2 separate regions of the Homo sapiens genome follow, and region 1 is linked to region 2. Evidence: promoter capture Hi-C in 16 types of primary human blood cells and fetal thymus (Javierre and others, 2016). All regions are on one chromosome and are shown on one strand. The core of a region is centred on a gene start or on the middle of the fragment in contact, and the rest is flanking DNA. Distances in the headings are between cores, read along the strand shown.

What was found. The method cuts DNA at HindIII sites, captures the fragments that hold promoters and counts their contacts. A CHiCAGO score of 5 or more calls a contact.
Region 1: a contact is called between a fragment that was not itself captured here and the fragment with the promoter of NEK10 in region 2, in 11 of 17 cell types (total CD8 T cells, M0 macrophages, M2 macrophages and 8 more). The highest score is 10.1, in total CD8 T cells.

What each region holds. Positions count from the first base shown.
Region 1 is chr3:27,706,477-27,709,247 of GRCh38, forward strand. It overlaps the pseudogene KIAA1143P2. Among named protein-coding and RNA genes, the nearest start is that of LINC02084, 5.1 kb to the right of the region's middle. The HindIII fragment of the contact is 249 bases long and covers 1,395-1,643 here.
Region 2 is chr3:27,368,082-27,370,946 of GRCh38, forward strand. It overlaps NEK10 (NIMA related kinase 10), which reads right to left and starts at 1,302. Exons shown (of 36, transcript NM_001394966.1): 1 at 1,144-1,302. RefSeq lists an enhancer at 560-1,060. The HindIII fragment of the contact is 2,054 bases long and covers 1-1,509 here.

The DNA of each region.
Region 1 (2,771 bases), core at 269-2,768, 340 kb after region 2:
TTTTTGAATGTCTGGCCATTTTTGATTGGGTCCTGTGCATTTAAAATATTTTTTGTTCTGTGCTGGTTGTTAGTTTTATTACTATACATATAACTTGAGCTTTCTTCATGGATATAGTTAAGTTTCACTTCTTGTTTATAAGCCTACTTAGATTAAACCAGAGCAGCATTTAGTCCAGTACTACTTTAGCTCACTACTGAAGCAAGACCCTTCTGAGTTCTTTTCCTGATACCTCATGAATTATGAAGTTTTCCACTTTCGTGAGTGGGAAAGGGGACAATCCTCAGTCAGGGTAAATACTGGGTATTAATACCTCTCATCCAGTAGTTCTCAGCTGGGATAATTTTGCCCCATAGAGGTCATTTGACAATGTGTAGAGACACTTTTTGTTGTTACAACTGGTGGGGTAGTGCTACTGGCATCTAGTTGGTAGAAGTCAGGATATTGCTAAATATCCTATAATGCAGCTCCCACAATATAGAATTTTTTGCCTCCAAATGTCAATAGAGCTGAGGTTGAGAAATCCTGCCTAATCCTGTGGGCTTGGGGTATTTTCTTCACATGCGTGTGCTGATCAACACTCAGGTGGAGTTGAGGAAGACCCTATTCACTTCTCTAGATTTTTCTTTCTGGGCAGGTCTCTCCTCTCTGGAACTCTGCTCCAAAAACTCTAGCCATCTTGGCCTCCTCATCCTTACAGTTTTGTCTCCTCAAATCAAGAAGACTGCTGGGCTTTGTCTGGGTCCCTATCCCCATGCTAAACTGAGGCCTGGAAACTCTCCAGGCAGTAAGTTGGAGAAATATTAGGGTTTTCCTCATTCATTTCTCTTCTTTAATAGATTACTATTTTACATTGCCTAATGGAAGCCATATATATATATATATATATATATATATATATATATATCTGGTTATATATATCAGATATATATATATCTGATTTTTAGTTTAGTTTTTTTTTCAAGCAGAAAGTTAATTCATATCCCTGTTACTCCATCTTGTATTAGAGCAGAAATCTGCTTTTGACATTTTTTTCTTTTTTTTGAGACAGAGGAGTCTTGCTCTGTTGTCCAGGTTGGAGTACAGTGGCACGATTTCGGCTCACTGCAACCTCCATCTCCCAGGTTCAAACGATTTTCCTGCCTCAGCCTCCCAAGTAGCTGGGATTACAGGTGCCTGCCACTGTGCCTGGGTAATTTTTGTATTTTTAGTAGAGACGGGATTTCACCATATAGCCCAGGCTGGTCTCAAACTCCCAACTTCAGGCTATCTGCCTGCCTTGGCCTCCCAAAGTGCTGGGATGATTACAGGTGTGAACCACCGCGCCCGGCCATGCTTTTGACATTTTTGAAATTCAATTAAAATCATAGCATTGCTCTAGATCAGTGGTCAAAAGCTTTCCGTAGTGAAATCTTCCTCACAGGAGTATTTTGGTTATTTAATTTTTTCAAGTAGGGTGCCAAAACTGAAAAGTAGGGGGATTTTCACATAAAAACCCAAATTTTTCAGCTATTCTTGAAACATCCTCTTTGGGGAATCTCAAAACAACTCGAGAGTACTTAAGAGTACTCTCAAGAGTATCCTTTAGCAGTCAAGACATTGGAGGGTGATAGGTGGGCTGGATTTCTTCTTCATTGCCCCCAAGCTTCACCCTTCATTCTTTTCTGTCCTGCCTTGTGCCATCCTGCCTCCTCTATAGAGGAGGCTGACCTCTATGACTGCATCAAGAGATTGTTTAGCCCTTTGGATTCTCACTGGGTTCAGCCAAACAGGGGCACTGAGGGGATTTGAGGGTGGAAGGAGAGAGTCTGGCCTCCTTCTTGCTGGTTTACTAAAGGTTGGTCAAGTTCTTCCTAAAGCTGCAGCCTTTGTCAAATGGTCTTATCCACACTACTCTCTCTTTGGATCTGGCAACCTCGCCTATGTACAAGAAAGCTGGCAAACACAGAGAAACCAAATACCTCGTGGACCTTATTGCCAGGTTAAGAATGTGACTCATACATTTTTTTTTCCCGAAACTCCGATGGGAAATAGGGCATTGCAAGGCTTGGAAATGTTTGATTGTCCTTTTCCAGTGAGTTTGTTTTTGTTGAGAGGGAAAAAGGAATGGGAGAGAGTTATTTTGAGGCATGTATCTCCAGATTAAGATTTAGTTGTATTTCTAGAGACTCTCTTCTATTTAAATTCTGTTTTTCAGTTATGTGTTTCATCAATATCATTATGATCACCTTCCATAGTCTAGTCAATTCACAGAATCTGTTTTGACAGCTCTGAACAGAAAAGTCCCTAATGGAAATATTAGATACCATCTTAACCATTTTCTCCAAGTTGTATTCTACACTCTGTAATCTCAGCTTAATGTTATTAGCTCTGGGGCACAAATACACACTCCTACATACAAGCATGTATACACATTTTTGCACACTAACTTAACTCATGCTTCTCTGTGCTCTTCTATAACAGCTATGTAGTCTGTGTCTGTGGTCTTCTAAATATTTAGTGATGAGCACAGACTATTGGTTAATTATATCAACAACAAGCCTTTTTACCAGAGGAACTTGAATCCTGAAAGAAGTAAAATACCAAAGATCATTCTTGGGTTTTAGATCTGTAAGATAAAGACAAAATTTGCCTGCCAAGATTAAGAAAACCAGCAAATATGTAGGGTGAAGAACATATATTCTGTGGATTCACTACCCCAAAGCTATATAGGCCAAAGTGTGCAATGAAGAAGGCACCACTCCATGATAGGCTTAAAAAAAGGCTGAGTG
Region 2 (2,865 bases), core at 52-2,551:
CAGGAGTTCGAGACCAGCCTGACCAACATGGTGAAACCCCTTCTCTACTAAAAATACAAAAATTAGCCAGGCGTAGTGGCTCGCGCCTGTAATCCCAGCTCTCTGGAGGCTGAGGCATGAGAATTGGTTGAACCCGGAAGGCGGAGGCTGCAGTGAGCTGAGATCGCTCCACTGCACTCCAGCCTGGCAGCACAGCAAGACTCCTTCTAAAAAAGGAGTCTTTTTTAGAAGGACTCCATATATATATATATACACATATATATATATCAGTTCAACAATGGTGGGGAAAAAAGTGGATTGGATAGATAGGGCCAGACTAGAATCGGAGAAGCCAGATGGGTGTTGAATTTAACCAACCGATGGTGGAAATTGAGACAGTAAAAATAGAGATGGTAATGTGGGAATTGATTCAACACCTATTAAGAAGGGATAGTCTTGATAATTGATAGAGATGCAGAGGAAGCAGCAGTAAGTGTCATGGATGTCGTCTAGAGTGTAGTTTTTGAAAGCTGAATGGATAGTGATGCCCAAAATAGGGAATCCAAGAGCAGCAGCAGACATGGGGAAGATGGCGTTCAGGGTTGCACATGTGTGGCGTTAACTTGGCAGCTGGATTTTGGGGTCTGACAGTTAGTAGAGCAGGCTAGGTTCCAGTTGGAGACTTTCTAATCATCGTCAGATAGATGGTGCCTGAGGCGAGGAAGTGGAAGGGCTCACCGAAGTAGGGCAGAAAAGCAGAGGGGCAAAGTCAAAGCAGCATCCTGTAAGGAGAAGGCAGAAAAGCGACGCTCATAGAGATGAAGAATGAACCTCCAGAGGCGTCGGAGCAGATTGGAAGAGACACATTCAGGCTCCATTTAACCAGAATAATTCCGTTATCAAAATGGAAGCGCCAAGAAGCATCGTTGATGGCGCTTTCCCACCATCCATCCGTCCAACACAAACCCACCTGCTTTGAAAAGACTGCCTCACGCAGTGACTCACTTACCCACCACAGCCGCATTCTCTACCTCTGCCTCTTGTCTAGTGAAGCTGGCTCCCGAGGCTTCGGGGCCGCTCCACAGGGACCTGAGGACGTCTCCCCGGAGACCCTGACTCAAGCTGCTCGCCGGCACAGCCGAGCACCGGCTCCCGCCTACTCACCGCGCGGGAGGGACGGTCCCTCCTTCAGGCCAATCTCCTTATCATTGTCCCTGCTGCTGTCACCTGCTGCTGCAGACCGGGGGTCCCGTCCAGTCTCAGCCCGTCCCGTCCTCCCCCCAGCCTATTCCCGGTCCCCTCAACCTCAGGGACACCGCGGCCAGCTGCACCGTTGGTTTTCCAATCAAATCCTCCTCCAGGCCACCAACCAGCGCTGGCCAGGCCAATGCCGACAATTCTTCCTCCGCCACCTGGGGCGCCTCAGCCAATCGGGAGCAGCCATGCTGCGCAGTGCAGAACGCCATAGCGACGGATGACGCCTGCCGGGGAATCGCCGTAGCAACCAGAGACGCGCTAGATCCACCACCAAGCTTGCAAGCAGAAGAGGCAGCAAGTGATGCTGAAGGCTGTGCTGCAGCCACTTCACCGGAACCTAGAGCTACCTGTGAACAGGTCTCCTACACGTTGAAGATTTTTCTGGATTTAGGGTGTCTAACCTTTGATGGGAAAGGGCAGCTTCATCTTGGAGTGTTTACTTTCAAGAATTGCTATGGGCTAAAAATCAATTCTCTTTAAAAGCAAAGATTTAATCTGATAAGGAATCAATGCAGCATGCTAAATACCTTTCATATGGCATGAAAACGTCTTCAGTTACTCAAGCCACAGGCAATGAGAATAAGGTGCCACAGCACCGTATTTTTCACAAAAAGAGTGACCTGGGATTCAAGAAACCTGTATAGTATAACTATCGCCAGTTCGTTTTGTGGCTTTGGGCAAGTCACTTCACCTTTTGTGAAAGTCTGGAGCTTCTTTAAAATTTCTGAACTGCATTAGATAACGCTTTAAAAATATACCTGACATTCTGTAACTTTAAATAAATGAAAAATGCCAATCTATTAAGTGCTTAATTTTGTGCCGGGCACGATTTCAAATTCTTTCCTTATTTCACTTAGTTATAAAATGGAGGCACAAGAAGTTTCCTAAGTAGTCCAGTATGGCAGAGCTAGTGATGGAGTCAGGGTAAAACCTACTTCGAGTCTGGTCTTAACCACGATGATGCTCCTTCGACGATTTCTTCGAGTACTGGGCCCTGTTCAACCTCATCTTGGTATCACTAAACGCTCGTGTGTGTGTCTGGTGGTTACATCTTCCCAAACTGGATTTTAAATGAATACAGTGAACCCTAACGTTTTTCTGGTGTGGATAGTAAGTAGGCCCATTGGATTAACAATACTTAAGCTTGGGTAATTGAAAGCATTTTTTAAAATGAAGACGGTCCTATTTTGGAAATGCAGAAAGGCGAGATGAAAGCCAAACTCTGGTGAGTATAGCAGAACTAATTAAACTTCAGAGATCTAAAACAATCAGGATTAATGTTACCAATAAAACAAAACAAGGTGACGGGGCAGGAAGACCGATGCTGAGTAGAAAAAGTATTCTGTACATACATTCTAAATGTTAAGCAGTCGGCCTGGCTTGGTGGCTCACACCTGTAATCCTAGCACTTTGGGAGGCCGAGGCAGGAGGACCACTTGAGGTTAGGAGTTCGAGACCAGCCTGGCCATCATGGCCAAACCCTGTTTCTACTAAAAACAGAAAAATCAGCCGGGCATGGTGGCACATGCTAGTCCCTACTACTCAGGAGGCTGAGGCACAAGAATTACTTGAACCCAGGAAGCAGAGGTGCAGTGAGCCAAGATCATGCCACTGCACTCCAGCCTGAGA